6 separate regions of the Homo sapiens genome follow, and regions 1, 2, 3, 5 and 6 are each linked to region 4. The links are contacts of gene promoters, found by promoter capture Hi-C in blood cells and fetal thymus (Javierre and others, 2016). All regions are on one chromosome and are shown on one strand. Each heading gives the region's core, a stretch centred on a gene start or on the middle of the fragment in contact. The rest is flanking DNA. Distances are from core to core; before and after follow the strand shown.

Region 1 (3,584 bases), core at 14-2,513, 680 kb after region 4:
TGCAAAACAGCCATGCTGTTGTTTTGACAACCTCTTTTAGAACAATTTTTTTTTTTGGCTTCCATTTTCCCCAAGTTACCTTGTCTGTATGTAATTGTCTCCATTGATTTTAGTTTTGTCTTCTGGAATAATTCAGAAAGCCTTTGATAAAATTTTGCCCTTCAGCGTTGGAAGACAGCTTTGTCATTCCTGAGGAGTTGGGTCCTGGCCAGGCGTGGTGGCTCACGCCTGTAATCCCAGCACTTTGGGAGGCCGAGGCAGGTGGATCATCTGAGGTCAGGAGTTTGAGACCAGCCTGGCCAACATGGTGAAACCCTGTCTCTACTAAAAATACAAAAATTAGCCGGGCGTGGTGGTGCGCACAGGAGAATTGCTTGAACCCAGGAGGCGAAGGTTGCATTGAGCCAAGATTGCACCACTGCACTCCAGCCTGGGCGACAGTGAGACTCTGTCCCTTCCCCCACCCCCCCCTCCAAAAAAAAAGAAAAAAAGAGTTGTGTCCCAAGTTATTCTGGTAGCATCCTTGTTTTAGTTTCCTCTAAAAGGGTGATTTTTGTGTCCATATCTATAGTATTTTAGATAAGGTTAGATGAAGTTATCTTCTATGATGACTTGAATGATTTTTCTGTTTCATTTGTAAGATGAGGTTGTTGGATTAAAGCATAACTTTTGCTATGAATTTGATTTCCAGACTTTTTTTTTTTTTTTTTAGCTTTGTTAAAAATTTGCTGAATTGGGCTGAGCACAGTGGCTCATGCCTGTAATCCCAGCACTTCAGGAGGCTAGGGCTGGCGGATCCTTTGAGGTCAGGAGTTTGAGATCAGCCTAGCCAACATGGTGAAACCTTGTCTCTATTAAAAATACAAAAAATAAGCCGGGTGTGGTGGCGCATGCCTGTAATCACAGCTACTTGGGAGGCTGAGGCAGGAGAATTGCCTGAACCTGGGAGGTGGAGGTTGCAGTGAACTGAGATCCTGCCACTGTACTCCAGCCTGGGCTACAGAGCAAGACTCAGTCTCAAAAAAAAATGAGTTGGTGGTTACTGTTTCCAAACCTAGACCTCACATAAAAATCCAAATTTTTAGGCACTTCCTGGAAAAGTATGAGGTTTTGCAACAGTGGAAGCATTGAATTGGAAGCATTCCATTATTGGCTAGCATCATTGGCTAGATTTGAGAGATTGGCTTTTTTCTTTGGTGGTAGGAGTATGTCCTCCTCAGTTTGTCCTTGGTCACACGTGACCTTTGTCCCCCCCCCCCCCTTTTTTTTTTTTTAACCTTTATCTAACTTGCTCCTGTAAGAATTCGGGTTTGTAATTCTCAGGAATGAAGGATTTATCCAGGCCCCTTCTTGTACGCTGGAGGTTGTTCAGAACCATGGAATTCTTTTTTTTGTTTGTTTGTTTTTTTGAGACGGAGTCTCGCTCTGTCGTCCAGGCTGGAGTGCAATGGTGGGATCTCGGCTCGCTGCAACCTCCGCCTCCTGGGTTCAAGGGATTCTCCCACCTCAGCCTCTGGAGTAGCTGGGATTACAGGCTCCTGCCATCATGCCCAGCTCATTTTTTTTTGTGTTTTTATAGAGACGGGTTTCACCATGTTGGCCAGGCTGGTCTTGAACTCCTGACCTCAGGTGATCTGCCTGCCTTGGCCTCCCAAAGTGCTGGGATTACAGACATGAGCTACTGTGCCCAGCCCAGAACCATAGAATTCTTTTTTTCAGACGGAGTCTCACTCTGTCGTTCAGGTTAAAGTGCAGTGGCACCATCTGGGTTCACTGCACCCTCCGCCTCCCGGGTTCGAGCAATTCTCCTGCCTCAGCCTCCCGAGTAGCTGGGACTACAGGCGCCCACCGTCAACGCCCGGCTAATTTTTTGTATTTTTAGTAGAGACGGGGTTTCACCGTGTTAGCCAGGATGGTCTCTATCTCCTGACTTCGTGATCCGCCCGCCTTTGCCTCCCAAAGTGCTGCGATTACAGGCATGAGCCACCACGCCTGGCCAGGACCATAGAATTCTAATGATGTGATCTTCAATTATTTTGTGAAATCTTATTACCTGGATAAGAGTCAGGATTGCTTTATCTTGTTTGGCAGTTAGAGAACAGTTGTTGATTCACAATATTTCTGGTCAGTTAAAACATTTTCACAGGTTAGTCGATAGTATTGTTCATTATTTTCTCTGTTCTTACAGACTCTTAGTAGTTTTGTCAGTTATTGAGTTGAAATCTGAACTATATGTGTTTTCAGTTTCTCTTCAGAGTTTTATCATAAGTTTTTGCTGCATGTATTTTGAAGCTCTGTTGGTAGGTTTATGAAACCTTTTGGAACTTATGGAATATAGTTAAAATAACTACCATTTTAATAACTTTGATTTTTCTAGCCTGGGCAACATGGCAAAACCCTGCCTCTACAACAAATACAAAAATTAGCTGGACATGGTTGGTGCGTGCCTGTAGTCACAGACCCTTGGGAGGCTGAGGTGGGAGGATTGCTTGAGCCCAGGAGGCAGAGGTTGCAGTGATCGAGGTCGTGCCACTGCACTCCAGCCTGGGTGGCAGAGTGAGACCTTGTCTCAAAAAAAAACCAAAAAACAAAACTTTCATTTTAAAAATTTTTCATAGAGGTGGGGCCTCCCTGTGTTTCCCAGACTGGTCTTGAACTCTTGGCCTCAAGTATTTTTCTCCTCCTACCTTGGCCTCCCAAAGTGCTGGGGTTACAGGAGTGAGCCACCGCATTTGGCTTAATATAAATTTCATTTTTAATGTTGTTTACTAATTCTATCATCTTTCATTTTCTGGGTTTGTTGCTCGCACTGGTTTTTCTTCTCATCATGGGTTATATTTTCCTGCTTCTTTCTTGGCCTGGTTAATTTTCCAGCTATTGTGAGTTTTACCTTGTAAAATTTTACTTTGTTGCTGGATATTTTTGTACTACAAATATTCTTGAGCTTCGTTCTGGGATGAGGCTAAGTTACTTGGAGACTGTTTGATCCTTTCAAGGCTTGTTTTTAAGCTTTTGTTCAGCAGAGTCGCAGCAGCTTTTAGAGACTAGTTTTTCCATGCTACTGAGGGCAGGAACCTTCTGACTACTCATCTGATGCCTTGTGAGATTCTCACTTTGGGTAGTGGAAGGAGGAATTACTCTGCTACTTCTGTGAGTTGTGGGGATTGTTTCCACTGCTTCTTTCTGGGGCTTCTCTGGTAGTTTATACGCATGTGCTAATTAATCAGTACTGAGCTGAAGACTTGAGAGGGACCTGGTACACCACTCTGGACTTCTTTCTCTTTTTTTTTTTTTTTGAGACGGAGTCTCGCTCTGTCTCCCAGGCTGGAGTGCAGTGGTGCGCTGGACCTCTTTCTCTGTGCAGCTCTCTCATCTCTGTGCTTCGCTCTGACAAGTCCAGCTGCCTTGGCTTCCAGCTCTGGCTTCTCAATTCAGGGGAGCTTTTTCTCCCCCACCCCCCTCAATCCAGGCTTTGGATTCTCCCTCCCTGTGCTTTTTGGCCTGAAAAGTATTCCCAGGCAATAAGCTAGGATGGTTGTAGGGTTTATATTTGTTCCCCTTTTCAGGGATCACTGTCCTGTGCC
Region 2 (3,558 bases), core at 617-3,116, 730 kb after region 4:
GTTGGGAGTTCGAGACCAGCCTGACCAACATGGAGAAACCCTGTCTCTACTAAAAATACAAAATTAGCTGGGCGTGGTGGTGCATGCCTGTAATCCCAGCTACTCGGGAGGCTGAGGCAGGAGAATCGCTTGAACCTGGGAGGTGGAGGTTGCTGTGAGCTGAGATTGTGCCACTGCACTCCAGCCTGGATGACAAGAGCGAAACTGTCTCAAAAAAAAAAAAAAAAAAAAAAAAAAAAAAAAAAATTCAATATTTCTCTAGTTTGGAGTCTATAATGCTTCAGAAATACAAGTGTGTGATTTATCTTTATACTTTTAAGTTAAAAATAGATATCCTAAGCCACTTATATAAAATGGATTAGCTGAAATTTTGGAAGTTGGATATTTGGTTCACTGAATTTCCTTAACCCATCCAGTGACCAGAAAATCTTTAGTTTCAACTCTTGTTGAAGTTTCCTAATATGTACCACTTGCTTTCCTGTCCCAGGAAGTAGATTTCACTTCAGTTTTGATGGTTAAAGGAACTCTTGCAGTTCTTCAGAATCATGAGCTATCAACTGTTAATTCTTACTCATTGTGGATGTAGACAGCATAAAAATGTGGGCTAAATATATTCTAATTATGAACTGGAAGGACGCGGTCTGAATTCATGTTTATTACCAAGCACAGTGCCTGGCATAGAGTAGGTACCAGTAAATATCTGTTGAAATAAATTAAAATTGGGCTTTGATATGGTTCGTTCAATGTGGAAAAAAATAAAACATTAACTTCAGGCCCACGTAGAGGCTCTGTTTATTAAGCATTAAAAAATAATTCTAAACTCATATATCTGTAATATTATAACTCATGTTTTAGAATATTAATTCATGTCATTCCTTCTTTTTCTTTCCCTATACCCTAATATATACACACAAGCCTCCATTCTCCCTGTTTCCCTGTTCCTCTCCTACATTCTCCCACCTCACTGAGGAGAGTTGGGCTTCATACTTCTCACTAGTTACATTCCTGGACGATTGCTCTAATGGGTTTCTGGCTGGCTTTCTTTACCTATAGTGCCTTAGTTTCCAGTGCTGATGGATGTAAATGTAGATCTCTGACAGAGGCCGGGCGCGGTGGCTCACGCCTGTAATCCCAGCACTTTGGGAGGCCCAGGTGGGCGGATCACGAGGTCAGGAGATCGAGATCGTCCTGGCTAACACGGTGAAACCCCGTCTCTACTAAAAATACAAAAAATTAGCCGGGTGTGCTTGCAGGCGCCTGTAGTCCCAGCTACTCGGTAGGCTGAGCCAGGAGAATGGCCTGAACCTGGGAGGCGGAGCTTGCAGTGAGCGGAGATCGCGCTACTGCACTCCAGCCTAGGCGACAGAGCGAGCCTCCATCTCAAAAAAAAAAAAAAAAAAAAAAAAATCTCTGACAGAGTAATTCATATATTTTTAATATAAAGGAAAAAGCTGCCTTTAAAAACATTCAATAGAAAACAGTTCTAATCTGCCCAAATGTCCAATAATAGGGAAATGGATGTGAGTTACTGCTTGAGAACACTGAAGCACTAAAATTCCTGTTTTTGAACACATTAGTAACAAGTGTTAAAAAGAAATATACCAAGTATAAAATAATGGTTATCCCTGGATCATTGAACCAAGAGTGATTTTAATCTCTTTATATTTTCCATTTTTTCAAGTATTAGTCAAATTGGCAGAAAAGCTTGTTTCTGATTATTGAGGGTCTCAGTTTCTTAGGATAGTAACATGGAAGACCCTTTAGCCTTCTTTACATAATTTCTGTGGTGTTTTTAATGTACTCCATTGCATAAACCATAAGAATGTTAATTATAAATATGGTATCATAACCTGTTATCTTCATATAGGTAACACATTTAGTTGACTTGGATTAAGTAACTGGTACCCTGTCTTTCTGGCTTCTCTTACGAGGGTTGAGTTTATATAAATGCTGTTGTATGCTGTGATCACTTTGTGTGCTAGACATGTTAATTTGCAATGTTTACAGCCTCATACTTACGGAAGCTTTGGTCTTGCTTCACCTCACTGAGACCTGCAGTGATTACGAGGTTACTTACTGAAGACATTACATAAGTACCAGTCTTGAAATCAGGAGGTACAGATGCTTAGCACAATGGCTACCTGTGATTGTTGTTAGATGGTAAAGTAGGTGGAGGATTTTAAGTTGTTTTTGGAGGGCCAAATCATCTGGACTACTGTAGATATCCTTGTAGTGAGGGTGGCTGCTGTATTGCTGTGGTCTGTGCCTTTCAGTAAACATTTGCTGAGGACCTCCTACGTAACAGTTTGCCAGGTGCTGGGACTACAAGACTAAGAAAACGTTCTTGGCCCCTGAGGAGCTCACAATCTAATGGTAAAACAAATAGCTCCATTTTTTTTTAGCATTAATATACCAGACACTGTTAGATTCATTATATACATTATCTCTTAATTCTCAGTACAATCCTGCTGTTCATGCAACAGATATTTACTGTGTCAAGCAGTAAAATGTGCCCTAGGAGTGAAGGGAACAAGATAAGGGATAGAATGCTAATGTTACAGCTGAATAAACTCTACTTCAGAGAGGTTAGGTAATGTGATCACAAAAGTGGTAGCAATAAATAGCCATTGTTTATTGATTACACAGACACTATGCCTAAGGGCCTTATATTATATACACTGTCTTATTTAATCCTTAAAACAGCTCAGTGTGCCAAGTCGTACCCTTATTTTTATAGAGGATGCTGAGGCTTGGATGCCTGAGATTACACAGCTTGTGTGATAAAGCAAGGATTTGAAGTTAGGTTCGTCTAACTTCAAATTTCATGCTCTTAACCATGATGTTTTTTATATATATATATATATATAATTTTTTTTTTTTTTTTTTTTTTTTTTTTGAGACGGAGTCTTGCTCTGTTGCCCAGGCTGGAGTGCAATGGCATGATCACAGCTCACTGCAACCTCCACCTCCTTCCTAGGTTCATTCAAATGATCCTCCCGCCCCAGCCTCCCAAGTAGCTGGGATTATAGGCACACATCACCACGCCCAGCTAACTTTTAGTAGAGATGGGGTTTTGCCATGTTGGCCAGGCAGGTCTCGAACTCCTGGCCTCATCTGCCTGCCTCGGCCTCCCAAAGTGTTGAGATTACAGGCGTGAGCCACTGCAGTGGGCCCATGATGTTACATTGTATTTCTCCTATATGGAGTAGTAATAGCTACTATTTATCATGAGCCATGTGCCAGGTGTTTACATATAATATCTTAGATTCTCACAACCACCTCAGGAAGTGGATGCTGATGCCTTCTGAAACTGAGCCTCAGGAGTCAAGTAACCTGCCCAGCTGGTGAGTGGACCAGATCTGTCTGGCTCCTAAGCCTCTGGTCTTTCTGTGGTACTAACATTCCTCCCTTTCTGATACCTGAGTCTGGCAATTTCTGTTTGACAATTAGACTCTCCCTGACATATCTGTGATTCTTTCTTGAGATGAAACCCTAGTTGATTTAGCCTTGGGAATTTAGGTCTGGCCTTGCTTTTGCACGAGTTGGTCAGTTGTTATT
Region 3 (3,249 bases), core at 502-3,001, 660 kb after region 4:
GATGGGGTTTCACCGTGTTAGCCAGGATGGTTTCAATCTCCTGACCTCGTGATCCGCCCGTCTTGGCCCCCAAAATGCTGGGATTACACGCATGAGTAATCTTTTTTAATGTCCTTAATCAACTCCCTCTCCCTTTCACAGAGCAGCAATTCCAAACTTTCATCACTTACTTGATGGACTCTTCCTCACTACCTTCTCTAATAGTGAAATGTTAAAACAGTCAGATTTGGGGCTACTTCAGTCCTACCTGCTTAACTCAACCTGCTTGATCAGAGGACTATCTTAAACATGTAGTGCAGAGCCCAGGTGAGGAAGGTGATGACCATGAAACTATGCAACCTGCAGGTAGTACCATATGCTATGTAGAACAGGTGGGAGTTGTGTATGAAAACTGTCCTAAGACAGAGAGGGATTCTTAGATAATGGAGAAATAGCCCCCAGGGGAAAATGGGCTGTATTCCAAAAATTCAATTTTAAATTGACTGTTTGGAATGCAGAACACATTTTCCCTTAGAAACAATGCCATGAATAATTGCAGTTATTTTTCTCAGGAAAGTCCACACAAGCTTGTTTAACTCATAATGTAACAGCCATATCTGCTAAGACATTTTAGATTTGCGTCAAGTAGATCCCTAAATCCTTACTACTCTGAATTATAAATTAGCCGTGTACATAGCTGCCACCCCAACTAGACTGTGAACTCTTTGAGGGCTAGAAACTGTTGAATTATTCATTTTTGTATTCTGAATGCCTGGCATATAACTGGCAATAAACGTTGGTTGCATAAATGAATGGACAAATTTAATAGGCATTTGAATACTGTTGAAAGTGTCTTGGGGAATAAAAACAGTAACATTTAGTGGATCCCTTAATGCGTTTGGCACTGTCTTAGGTAGATGACCAATAAAGCAAGCTGCTTTGTTAAGGCTGGAGTTAGAGATGAAGAAGATAAAAAAAAAATTTAATATTTGAGGTGTAAAATAAATGAGTGCTTGACTTGCTAAATACATGTTTTTGGATTAAATCAATGGAGAGATACATTGATTTGGAAAATGTTATGGAAAAAATATCAGCAGGAATTGCTTGGAGGGGGAAGGGAGGTGGTTCTTGGGAGCTCTAGGACTGAGGAGGGGAGAGCTATGACCACAGCTAAGAGCAGAGGATGGAAGAGGAAGTTTGGTAATGGTCAGAAAGGAATGATCAGGAAAGAACAGAAGTATCAGTCTGAATTACAGCCTAGTTTAATTTCATCTGGTTTACTGCTCCCTATAAAGAAGTACTACCCTGGCCAATCTCTGAAGATTTTTCATGAGTTTAGATTATGCTATTTTTACTTTCCCATAGATTGTGTTTAATTAGATTTATTGGTTTCCACAATGACAGTAGATTAAGCATTTGTGGCTTTTGTTTTTGAGACAGGGTCTCACTCTGTCACCTGGGTTGGCGTATAGTGGTGACATCTCAGCTCACTGCAACCTCCTCCTCCCAGGCTCAAGCAATCATCCCACCTCAGCCTCCTAGGTAGCTGGGACCACAGGTGTGCACCAGCACACCCAGCTAATTTTTTTGTATTTTTGGTGGAGACGGGGTTTTGCCATGTTGCCCAGACTGGTCTCGAACTCCTGAGCTCAGGTGATCCACCCACCTTGGCCTCCCAAAGTGCTAGGATTACAGGCATAAGCCATGGTGCCCGGCCAGGCATTTGTTAAAATCTGGTAGGGATGTGTATAATGGTGAAAACGATGGGATAGAAATAATAAGCAATGAGGGAGAATGCAACTTGAGAAAGTGGGAGAGGGAACATCATCTCTACAGAGAGTTTTTGGTGGAGGAAGATAAAGGAGGGGACAGAGGAAGGAGGGTGAAAGAGGAAGGGAAAGGAAGACAAAAATTAGCTATTTTGTAAACAATCTAACCCGTCAGAAAGTCTCTCTGACTGCTTGCCTGATCTTTGTTCTTTGAAAACATAACTACAACTATTTCTGTATTTACTTCATTGTCTCCAAAGTGCTAGAGTGCATACAATAAATACTTGATGATTGATATTCTGAGTGTTTCAAATCAATTCACACTTTTGGTTTTATTAAGGACCTTATAATTAACATTGATTTGATCAAGCTGAAACAAGAACTGGCTTCAAATTTGTAAGGCATTTTATATCTCTCCCCAAGGAAAAAGCAAACAATTTTCCATGCCTATTAGGTACTACACACTATACTAGTGAATTTACTTATATTGTCACATTAATCATTATTTTAACAATTATTGAATTCCTATTATATGTCAGACCTTATGCTAAGCAATGAGGATAAGAGGCAAAGAGGGAGAAAACTGACCTCCTAAGAGTTATAGAAATATAATGGGGAGGAAACAGGGCTAAACCAACAACTGCAGCATAGTGTGGTAGTGCAACAAAAGAGGTAAACACGCTTTTTATCAACTTGGACCTGGCAGAATGGCTTCCACAAAGAAGGGTGGCGAGAAGAAAAAAGGCCGTTCTGCTATCAACGAGGTAGTGACCCGAGCATACACCATCAACATTCACAACCACATCTATGGAGCGGGCTTCCAGAAGTGTGCCCCTAGGGCACTCAAAGAGATTCGGAAATGTGCCATGAAGGAGATGGGAACTCCAGATGTGCACATTGATACCAGGCTCAACAAAGCTGTCTGGGCCAAAGGAACAAGGAATGTTCCATACTGAATCTGTGTGCTGTTGTCCAGAAAACGTAATGAGGATGAAGATTCACCAAATAATTTCTATACTTTGGTTACCTATATACCTGTTACCACCTTCAAAAATCTGTAGACTCAACGTGGATGAGAACTAATCGCTGATCGTCAAATACATCGAATAAAATTATAAAACTGCCTTCAAAAAAGAAAAGAAAGAGGTAAGCACTTGGCAATATTGGAGAATAGAAGAGGGAAGCTTTAATTCAAAATGGGTATACAGACAATAAGAAAAACAAGTATTTTCCACAATCCCACTATCCAGAAAAAAATAATATTTTGGTGTATGTCTTTATAGTCATCTTTTTACCATGCATGGATATTTAGTTTTTCCAAAATTGTTCTGTTAATCAGGGTTTAAAAAAATTAATATATTATGAATATCTTCCCCTGTCAATAAATACATTTTTATATCATTTTAATTTTTTACATCATTCCTAATAGCTATATAATATTCTACTATGTAGATATATCCATAATATAGGTTGTTTTCAATCTGGAAATTTGGATTGGTTC
Region 4 (3,591 bases), core at 771-3,270:
AGCCACCGAGCCCGGCCAACATTACACGTAGGTTTCAAATTTTATTTAGATGGACCTGAAAGCACTGCAGAAACCTGGACAAAGGATAATGCCTAGAAAAATAAATACACATTTTATTTATTTTTTTGAGACGGAGTCTCGCTCTGTCGCCCAGGCTGGAGTGCAGTGGCGCGATCTCGGCTCACTGCAAGCTCCGCCTCCCGGGTTCACGCCATTCTCCTGCCTCAGCCTCCCGAGTAGCTGGGACTATAGGCGCCCGCCACCACGCCCGGCTACTTTTTTGTATTTTTAGTAGAGACGGGGTTTCACCGTGTCTGCTAGGGTGGTTTCAATCTCCTGACCTCGTGATCCGCCCGCCTCAGCCTCCCAAAGTGCTGGGATTACAGGTTTGAGCTACCCCGCCTGGACTCCCTCAGTATCGAACAAAACATTACACGTAGGTTTCAAATTTTATTTAGATGGACCTGAAAGCACTGTCAAAACCTGGACAAAAGATAATGCCTAGAAAAATAAGTACACATTTTAAAATTTAATACATGAGCCAACAGCTGAGTAGATGTGAACACTCTGCAAACTATGTTTATGGATATTACAGCCAATTTCCACAGATCACAATTTTCCCAAAGAAGTCTCAGAGTTTGTGGTCAAGATGAAAAGAAAGCACCATTTATCAACCAGTGCATATTACTATCAAGTTGTGAATGGGATGCCTATTTAAGAATATCACAGACTCCACCCCCCACAAGAAAATTAAGTGTTTTAAAAAGAAAAGAACGAATATTATTGACAATTACCAAACAAAACTTTCTTCTTAGGTTATTTCTCCGTTTACTGTGTGACCTCGCCGAAGGCTGAGAGTCTAGGCACACTGGTTTCCAGGTGCTGAAGAAATCGTTATAGTTGGTTTGTCATACGTCTATCAAAGTAAAATTTTAAAAATGAGTACCTTTTGGCAACACCCGTTTTGGGAGGACATTGAGCTGCTTTGCTCCCTACCCAAAGAGGAGTTAGGAAATTCTCTTTAACCTAATTCTTTCCTAATTTCTAGGGCTTCTTACCTAATCTAACGTGCATAATTATTTTCAGGTGACTCCGGGTCCATCAGTTTGACACCGAGAGCGTTCCTACGGTTACGTCCTCACCCCTGAACAAAACCCAGCTTCCTGAGCTTCTAACGGCGAATTTAACTTGTATGTTAATACAGAAGAAAGGTTACAAAACCTATCGAAATGGTTTTTTGTTTTACCAAACATATTACAACTCAAGTCAAAAGTTCACAGCCCCAGCAACTCGCGTACGAATCTGAAGCAGGTCCAGACCATTAAAGTCACAGCCCCAGACTAGAAAACGGCCGGTGGGTGGGGGGAGGGGAGAGGGCGCGTCCCGAAGATGTCCACCCGCAGCACCGCGCAGGCTGACGCCTCCCCTCCTCTCGGGCTGGAGGTGAGAGCGCCCTTCCTCCTACCACGTCCCTACCTTCCCGGCCTCGGATTACGCCACAGCTGGCAAAAGGACTTTTTCATGAGAAAACAGACAAGTCAACCAGCGCGCCGCACACTCGACCTCCCAGGCTCGCACGGGCGGCCGCCCGGGCTCTCAGCCCGACACAGCGCTCCAGGGGCTGACAAGGAGGCCGCGGGGTCACGCTCCCTGGGGCAACGGCCCGAGGGTCTCGCGGAATCCCGGTGCAGAAGTCTGGACCCTCCGAGCAGCCTCCGCGCCCCCTCCGGCTCGGCTCCGAGCCTGCAGACGGCGCCCCCGGGGCTAACTCAGCGCGAGAAGAGGAAGCGACGCAGCGAGTAACAGGCTGTATGGACGGACAGCGGACTGAAGGGGGGTGTGTGTGTGTCTGCCTGCCAACAAGGCCGTCTCACCTTCCCGCTGCCGAGCCGGGCAGCTCCAGCTCACCTGAGGAGGGCTCCAGGACGCCACTGCGGCCGCCGTGATGGCCGTAACGGCACGAGGCCTGCGCTCCGCCGCCGCCGCGTAGCTCTTGGGAGAGAGGCGGGGCACGCGCGGTGGGCAGGCGGATCCGCGCGGGCAGGAAACCCACTCTGGACCCAATCTGATAGGTTCAGTCGCCCCCTTCCCCGGTCCCTGACGCGACAACGGTCTCTGCCGCACTGGGATTGGGCGGGCCCTCATGTCAATCAAGCGCCGTGCCTGATGTGGAGGGAGCGGAGGCTGCGCGGCGGAGAGTAGAGAGCTAGAGGGTGAGAAGCGCTGGGCCGGACCAGAACTGTCTTAGCTTTTCCCTCTGCGGCTGCTCTGGTTGGTTACTTTGAGCCTGCCTCCTCAGCGCCGCAGGAGAGACTTAACAGCAAAAATGACTGTGTCCTGAGTTCAGCCCCCACTGCTCTGGGAGCTTCCCCCTGGTTTCTGCACCTGAAGAATGTCATCCCAGCCGAAGGTTCTTAGGAGCGGGGAGCGACAAAGAAAAACAAAGAAAAGCAGACCTGAAAATTGGGACCTGGGAGAAATGTAAGACATGTGCTTAATTTGAGGCACAGACCAAAAGAAGCTGAGTCTGAGGGCCCTCTAAAAGTGTCCTCGTGCTTGGGCAGCTTACATTCTTGGCGGCAGTAGTGTTATGAAGAGGACCTTCGGAGCCAGGTCTGTCCATTCTTAGGGCTCCAGCCACTGGCTGAGGCATCAGTAAGTTGGTTCTTCCCCTCGCCGGTGCTGCAGGCCCCCTTCCCCGCCCCCGCGCCGTAACCTGCCTCTTTTTTTTTTTTTTTTGAAACGAGTTTCGCTCTGTCGCCAGGGTGGAGTGCAGTGGCACGATCTCGGCTCACTGCAACCTCCGCCTCCGGGTTCAAGCTATTCTCCTGCCTCAGCCTCCCGAGTAGCTGGGATTACAGGCATGTACCACCACGCCCAGCTAATGTTTTTGTATTTTTAGCAGTGACGGGGTTTCACCAGGATGGTCTCGATCTCTTGACCTCGTGATTCGCCAGCCTCGGCCTCCCAAAGTGCTGGGATTACAGGCGTGAGCCACCACGCCCAGCCGCCTCATCTCTTCTTAACCATCTTTGTGGCACAGTTTAGGATCGCTCCTCAGGGAAGCTTGCTCAGTTAGGTACCTTCCTTGGAGCACAGGTGTTTTCTCCATCCGAGCTATTGAAATGGTTTGCCTGTATGTCTACCTAGATTGTAAACTCCGTTGAATCAGTAACCATGTCTGTTCAGTTTCTCCCTAGGGCCTTGCAGTAGGGTAGATGGTCAGTAAATACTGTTTAAGGCATTAATACTTTTTATTTTAATCCTGGCCCTGGATATCAGCCTCAAAAGTTTGCAGTTTTCTGCATTTAACTTCAAAATTATTTACGTGATTGGTAATGCATGCATGTGGTTGGCCTGTGCTGTAATTTAGATGTTTGTTCCCCTAAACCTCCTGTTGAAATTTGATCCCCAATGTTGGAGGTGGGGACTAATGGGCAGTGTTGGGTCATGGAGGTGGTTCCTTCAGGAATAGATTAATGTCCTCCCTGGGGAGAGGGTAAATGAGTTCTCTTTATTTCCACCAGAGCTGGTTAAAAAGAACGTCGCACTTCCTTTCTTCTTTTGCGTCCTCTCTGGCCATGTAATCTC
Region 5 (3,517 bases), core at 779-3,278, 620 kb after region 4:
GTTTGCTGTGTTACTCAGGCTGGTCTCAAATGCCTGAGCTTAAGCGATCCACTTACTTTGGACTCCCAGAGTGCTGGGATGACAGGTGTGAGCCACTGTACCCAGCCCACTTCTTCAGATTTTGCTGATGACCTCACCCTTCCTACCTACAATATGCTCCAATTCCACTTAGATTTATACATTAGCCACAGGCAGTGGCACACACCTCTAGTCCCAGCTACTGGAGAGGCCGAGGGTCGTGTGAGCCCAGGAGTTTGAGGCTGCAGTGTGTTATGATTATGCCTATGAACTCCAGCCTGAGCAACTTAGAGAGACCTTGTCTCAAAACAAAAACAAAAACAAAACAACACAAAACAAAAAATTTATCCCTGGTAATAGAATTGGGATGTACATTTTGAGAATTGTGGTATGCTAGGTTCACCTGGCTGGAACGGTGGAAGATACGAAAAGGGATATAAATTCAAAGAGCCCCTGAACTCACAAGAACAGCTCCAGTCTTGTCTTCTGAATATACTGACTCTAACACCGTGAGGATGCCCTTTCCTATTTCAACCAAAACAGCCTTAGTGATTCTCTCCCTTCTGGATACTGATACTGGGTTACAGGTAAGTCAAAGTGCAGCCAGGATACAAGAAATACTCTTTCTTTTTCCTTTATTCTCCATCCTCGCTTTTCCTATCCCTCTTCCAGCTGCTTAGAAAATTCTAAGGCAAGAGTCATGGCACTAGATTAAGAAATGTTTGTTTTAATTAGTGGCCTCTCTTCTTCTTTTTCTTTTATAATTCCTCCTGCATTTCTAAAAGACTATATGAGTTATGATACTTTCACAATTATTTTTATTATAATGGGTGATTTTGAGCTTTTGGTATGAATTATGCTGTTCTAAAGCAATTGAGGTTAACATCTAGAAACTGGAAACAAATTAGCTATTCATATATGACTCCCCATGAGATTATAAGCTTATTTTGGATAAGGACTCTATCATTTTTATTTCTGTGTTTCCAGTACCCAGTGGTTCCAGATACATGGGGTATTCAGTCATTGAAAGAACTTTCTCTCTTGCTACTCTAGTTTCTCTGTGAAGAGGGGATTATCTGACGCTCAGCTCCATTACTAGAGCCAGCTTCTTTCCCATGAACCATGGGAAACCTATCTAGTTTCCTACGGGTGGTGTTGACATTTAAGATATACTCACTGGGGAACATCAAAAGTAATAAAGATTGCCACCACACCCAGCCCTTTGCATTCTTTTGACCATGTCTTTTAATACACAAACTTTTAAATAAAATAGGTTTTATCTTCCTACCTGACATATGTATTTTCAAGGCTGGGTGCGGTGGCTCATGCCTGTTATTCCAGCACTTTCGGAGGCAGACGGATCATTTGAGATCAGGTGTTCAAGACCAGCCTAGCCAACACGGTGAAACTCCGTCTCTACTAAAAGTACAAAAATTAACTGGGCATGGTGGTACGCGCCTGTAATCCCAGCTACTCAGAAGGCTGAGGCAGAATGGCTTGAGCTGGGAGGTAGAGATTGCAGTGAGCCAAGATTACGCCACTGCACTCCAACCTGGGAGACAGAGCAAGACTCCGTCTCAAAAAAAAAAAAAAAAGTAATAAAGATCATTACTTTTTATTAGGATATGGTTCTTCCCATCCAACTCGCTCAAAATTTCAACCCTATGATTGATGTAAGTGTGATCCTGAGTGAATGAGAGAAAGAGGGAAGGTTGGGAAGAAGCATTCTTAGACTGCAGTGCAGTCTAAGGAAAGTCAGCAAGAGAACTAAATGAAGCGGTGCCACCACTGTACCTTCTGCAGTTACCCTTAGTTTGTTGTTTTGGAAAGACAGACAGAAGCAGGGGAGGGAAGGAAAAGAAAAAGTGAAAAGAAAAACAATATTGTTTGAAGGCTTAGAAAACAGCTGCAACAACAGAACTTTCCTTATAACCCCTTTTGTATGTAAGAAAGGATTAAGTAAATATTGATGCATTCCTCACTTCCAGAACAATTTATAGGCTAGAAAGGGCGCTGGAGAGGATTGCCCTCATTATGAGCTAGTGAAGGGTTTCTGGTAGGATGGAAAGCATGCTTTGGTGCTGTAAAACTGGATTCCAAATGATACTAACAAGCAGTGTAACTAGGCAAATCAGTTCATCTCTTTCAGCTACAGTTTTTTCACTTATAAAATCATGATAATAATATTGACCCTATAGAATAGTTGGAGGGATTAAATTAAGTGAGAAAACATATGTAGAGTACACGGTATGCAATAGATGTTTAATAAGTAAAAATCCCGGCAGGGCGCAGTGGCTCACGCCTGTAATCCTAGCACTTTGGGAGGCCAAGGCGGGTGGATTGCCTGAGCTCAGGAGTTCGAGACCAGCCTGGGCAATATGGTGAAACCCTATCTCTACTAAAATAAAAATAAAAATAAAAATAAAAAACTAGCTGGGAGTGGTGGCATATGCCTGTAGTCCCAGCTACTCGGGAGGCTGAGGCAGGAGAATTGCTTGAACCCGGGAGGCGGAGGTTGCAGTGGGCTGAGATGGTGCCACTGCACTCCAGCCTGGCAACAGAACAAGACTCCGTCTCAAAAAAAAAAAAAAAAAAGTGATAATCCCACTCTAGTTTGGAAAGAGAATCCAGAATAGATGGGAAAGACAATGTACATGAGAACTGATCCTGGATACCTAAAGAAGAAAATGAATTATTGGAAGGAAGGAATTATCAAGGGGGATAGAAAAGAGTCAAAAAGCAAGATAATCTAGAAGCAGAAAAACACAGCTAAGCTCATGCCACAAGAACAGTGGACATTGACCTAGATACCACTATTGACAGACCTTGCTGTGACTGCTTCTGGATTTGCAAGGCCACTGTGAATAGTTTTCATACTATTGCGTATCTTTGCATAGTGGGCTCCCCCACTTATAATATTGAGTGGGAACATCAAATTGGCAGAGACTGAGTAACATGCTCACACCCCAGCATGAGAAAGATCTTAGAAAAGGACAAATGATCTCTATATTGCTTAAAATAATGCTAGCAACTGTAACAAACCCCAAGGTTTAAGTTACTTAACATAATAGAAGCTTGTTGTTTACCCTGACATTCTAGTGTAGCTATTCTTCCACACGGTGGGCAGCTTTCCCCCTTGCGGTGATTTAAGGACCCAGGCTTCTTCTGTCTTGTGGGTTCATCATCCCTAGATTTGTCTGTATTCAACTGGAGAATGGGGAAGAAGACAAGTGGAAGGGAAGCCCTGTTTATTAAAGACCCCACCTCCACCTGGACGCAAGGGCAAGGATGACAATGTACTCCCTGGCTGGCCAGCCACTTTCCAGTAGCAACTCCACACAGCAGAAGAAGGATTACAAATTTTTAGTTGACAGTTATCTATGTATGCCACACCCTCTACTGGGCCAATGTATATGGGAAAAAGTATGAAGTGGGGCAAGGTACTGAGGATTAAAGGACCCTGGGAAAGTGGAGAACGGTTTTGAGTAGTTGATTTGGG
Region 6 (3,609 bases), core at 504-3,003, 770 kb after region 4:
CCAAAAATTGATGATTGGGACCTAATTAAACTAAAGAGCTTTTGCACAGCAAAAGAAACTATCAACAGATTTAACTACCTACCTACAGAATGGGAGAAAATATTCTTAAACTATGTATCCAACAGAGGTCTAATATCCAGACTCTATATCGAACTTAAATCAACAAGCAAAAAACAACCCCATTTAAAAATGGGCAAAGGACATGAACGGACACTTCTCAAAAGAAGACATACAGGCAGCCAACAAACATGAAACAATCTCAACATCATTCATCATTAGAGAAATGCAAATCAAAACCACAACAAGATACCATCTCACAACAGCCAGAATGTCAACTACTAAAACGTCAAAATGTAACACATGCTGGTGAGGCTGTGGAGAAAAGGGAATACTTATACACTGTTAGTGGGAATGTAAATGGGTCCAGCTGTGGTGGAGAGCAGTTGATTTCTCAGAGAACTTAAAACAGAACTACCATTCGACCCAGCAATCCCATTACTGGGTATATACCCAAAGGAAAATAAATCATTCTACCACAAAGATACAGGTACTTGTATGTTTATCCAGCACTATTCACAATAGCAAAGACATGGAATCAACCTAGATGCCTACCAACAGTAGACTGGATAAAGAAAATGTGGTACATATATACCATTGAATACTATGCAGCCATAAAAATTATGAAATCATGTCCCTGCAGCAACATGGAGGCAGCTGAAGGCCATCATCCTAAGCGAATTAACACAGGAACAGAAAACCAAATACCGTATGTTCTCACTTGTAAGTGGAAGCTAATACTGAGTACACATGGACATAAAGATGGGAACAATGGACACTGGGGACTGCTGAAGTGGGTAGGGAGTGAGCACAGTGAGGGCTGAGGGACTGCCTGTTGGGTGTTGTGCTCACTGCCTGTGTGACAGGATCCTCCATACACCAAATCTCATCATCACCCAGTGTTCCCATGTGACAGACCTGCACGTGTACCCCCTGAATCAGAAAAGTTGAAATTATTTTTTTAAAAAAGAATTACTGTCTTGTATTAAGCCATAACTATGTTTTATAGGATATTATTTGGTCCAATAGCACTGCCAAATTATTCAGGAAGCTTTGCTAAAATGAGATGGTTATGGTATTACTTGTAGTTCATTTTTAAACACAGCATTAAACGTTTTCTTACCTTGTTACTGCACCAGAGAATATCCTTTCAATAATCCTGCTTGATGAAGCTAAATGTAGATAAAAAAAAAATTGCAAAGCTAGTTAGAAACATGCTCCATAAAGGCAATACTTTTCACAAATTTGCTTTTCACTAGCTACAAGCTAAACCGTAACCATCGTCCATGATGAGAATGTGAGTACATTTTTATTTACGCATAATTTTAATATAATTTTAAAAAATAACAGGCAAATGAATGTGGCTGACATCTGGGAAGTATTAATATAGTTGAATGCTAAGTTAGGTCTGAACATCCTGACAGCTAGGACAAAAATATATAGGATTTGTTTTGATCTTATCCAATGAGACCAATTTTCCTATAAACAAGACAAGTTTTATCCTTAAATTCAAGGGAGAACTGATTGTGTAAGCTCCTAAAACAATGTAAAATAAAACAAAACGAAGTTAAAACAATGGAGAATGCTTTCAAGTAGTTTTTTTAAAAGCTACTCAAACACACTACAAACATACTTTTCTTATATTCCCATTTTATAAAAGCCCAGGGTTTAACATGATATAACATAAGATTTTTAGAAATTCCATCAGGAAGTTTTATTCACATAGATAATCGTGGCTTAAGTTAGCATGTTGGTGAGAGAGAGAGAGAGAGAGAGAGAGAGAGAGAGAGAGAGAGAGAGAGAGAGAGACACGACTAGAGACCTGTTCTTTCATTTATTTATTTATTTTTGAGACAGAGTTTTGCTCCTGTTGCCCAGGCTGGAGTGCAATGGCGTGATCTCGGCTCACTGCAACCTCCGCCTCCCGGATTCAAGTGATTCTCCTGCCTCAGCTTCCCAAGTAGCTGGGATTACAGGCATGCGCCACCATACCTGGCTAATTTTTTTGTATTTTTATTAGCGATGGGGTTTCTCCATGTTGGGCAGGCTGGTCTTGAACTCACAACCTCAGGTGATCTGCCCACCTCAGCCTCCCAAAGTGCTAGGAATACAGGCGTGAGCCACCATGCCCAGCCTGTTCTTTAACAGATGCCCCAGGCAATGGCATGCACACTAAAATTTCAGGATCATCAATAAGGTCATTAGGGACTTAGCAGCTATCAGCATCGAATTCTTCTGCACATAGTTAGGTACAGTTAGCATAAAGGTAAATTGGTTTGGCCAAAGAAAGTTGGGAATATGTGTATTGGAACAGCCGTGCCTGGCCACACACCAAAGCTTATATAAAGACCTTCTATATTTTGCTGAACATTGGTTTATGGGGTTAATTTGTACTAGATAGAAAAAAAGAGGGCTATATAGGAAAGGCAAGGATATTTAATTGTAAAGCCAAAATCTTTTTTTAAAGGCATTTTTTAGCTTGGGAAGGTTTAGCTTCCTAAAATTGAAGATCATGTTATTCTATGTTGTCTCATTAGGGACAGTCTGGTGAGTGGATAATTATGGAGTATTCAGTGGCCCCTTCTCGCTCTGTCGCCCAGGCTGGAGTACAGTGGTGTGATCTCGGCTTACTGCAACCTCTGCCTCCTGGGTTCAAGCGGTTCTCCTGCCTCAGCCTCCCGAGTAGCTAGGATTACAGGCACGCACCACCACACCCGGCTAATTTTTGTATTTTTAGTAGAGATGGGGTTTCACCATGTTGTTCAGGCTGGTCTTGAACTCCTGACCTAGTAATCCACCTGCCTTGGCCTCCCAAAGTGCTGGGATTACAGGCGTGAGCCACCGCGCCTGGCCAACTTTATTTCTTAAATACGCAAAGCTCTATGAAACCTGACATCATATACAACAAACCTTTTTTTTTTTCTTTGAGACAGGGTCTCCCTGTCGCTCAGGCTGGAGTGTAGCAGCACCATCATGGCTCACTGCATCCTCAACTTCCCCAGGTTCAGGAGATCCTCCCATCTCAGCCTCCTGAGTAGCTGGGACTACAGGCATGTGCTACCACATCTGACTAATATTTGTATTTTTGTCATTTGAAAGACATTTTTTAATTTTTAATTTTTGTATTTTTTGTAGAGACAGGGTTTCACCATGTTGCCCAGGCTGGTCTCGAACTCTTGGGTTCAAGTGATCCACTCGCTTTGGCCTCCCAAAGTGCTGGTATTGCAGGCATGAGCCACTGCCCCCTGCCTGATGAGCCTTTTCTTAAGATGCATACCATTAGTAACAGCCATACCAAAAAACAAAAACAAAATTCAATGCATTTATTTAAGATTCATACTCTGCTATATCTAATAAGCTAAAGTATCATTTAAAAATCAACAGTGCCTGAGAAGGCATTTAAGGACAGAACAGGGACAATCTTATGAGAGAAGAATGAATCAATGTATCTTAGTGCTTAGTTAATATTAAATCAGGCCAGGTGTGGTGGATCATGCCTGTAATCCTAGCACTTTGGCAGGCCAAAGCGAGTGGATCACTTGAACCCAAGAG

The links. Contacts are between HindIII fragments. The CHiCAGO score rates a contact against its expected background, and 5 or more counts as called.
Region 1: a fragment that was not itself captured here is called in contact with the fragment with the promoter of NCK1 in region 4 in 1 of 17 cell types (total CD4 T cells); the score reaches 5.5 in total CD4 T cells.
Region 2: a contact is called between a fragment that was not itself captured here and the fragment with the promoter of NCK1 in region 4, in 1 of 17 cell types (fetal thymus). The highest score is 5.4, in fetal thymus.
Region 3: a fragment that was not itself captured here is called in contact with the fragment with the promoter of NCK1 in region 4 in 1 of 17 cell types (total CD4 T cells); the score reaches 5.3 in total CD4 T cells.
Region 5: a contact is called between a fragment that was not itself captured here and the fragment with the promoter of NCK1 in region 4, in 1 of 17 cell types (naive CD4 T cells). The highest score is 5.1, in naive CD4 T cells.
Region 6: a fragment that was not itself captured here is called in contact with the fragment with the promoter of NCK1 in region 4 in 1 of 17 cell types (fetal thymus); the score reaches 5.9 in fetal thymus.

The regions. Positions count from the first base shown.
Region 1 is chr3:136,182,428-136,186,011 of GRCh38, reverse strand. The region is part of intron 1 of MSL2 (MSL complex subunit 2); the gene reads left to right. Among named protein-coding and RNA genes, the nearest start is that of MSL2, 12 kb to the left of the region's middle. The HindIII fragment of the contact is 3,496 bases long and covers 1-3,011 here.
Region 2 is chr3:136,135,384-136,138,941 of GRCh38, reverse strand. The region is part of intron 13 of PPP2R3A (protein phosphatase 2 regulatory subunit B''alpha); the gene reads right to left. Among named protein-coding and RNA genes, the nearest start is that of MSL2, 59 kb to the left of the region's middle. The HindIII fragment of the contact is 320 bases long and covers 1,707-2,026 here.
Region 3 is chr3:136,205,122-136,208,370 of GRCh38, reverse strand. It overlaps the pseudogene RPL31P23. Among named protein-coding and RNA genes, the nearest start is that of MSL2, 10 kb to the right of the region's middle. The HindIII fragment of the contact is 2,366 bases long and covers 569-2,934 here.
Region 4 is chr3:136,860,637-136,864,227 of GRCh38, reverse strand. It overlaps NCK1 (NCK adaptor protein 1), which reads right to left and starts at 2,020. Exons shown (of 4, transcript NM_001291999.2): 1 at 1,875-2,020. It overlaps NCK1-DT (NCK1 divergent transcript), which reads left to right and starts at 2,165. Exons shown (of 3, transcript NR_110177.1): 1 at 2,165-2,481. RefSeq lists enhancers at 1,152-1,271, 1,282-1,361, 2,422-2,481, 3,042-3,091 and a silencer at 2,002-2,061. The HindIII fragment of the contact is 9,923 bases long and covers 1-3,068 here.
Region 5 is chr3:136,237,775-136,241,291 of GRCh38, reverse strand. No RefSeq gene overlaps it. Among named protein-coding and RNA genes, the nearest start is that of PCCB, 11 kb to the left of the region's middle. The HindIII fragment of the contact is 2,133 bases long and covers 962-3,094 here.
Region 6 is chr3:136,085,503-136,089,111 of GRCh38, reverse strand. It overlaps PPP2R3A (protein phosphatase 2 regulatory subunit B''alpha), which reads right to left. Exons shown (of 14, transcript NM_002718.5): 9 at 1,181-1,229. Among named protein-coding and RNA genes, the nearest start is that of MSL2, 110 kb to the left of the region's middle. The HindIII fragment of the contact is 1,286 bases long and covers 1,111-2,396 here.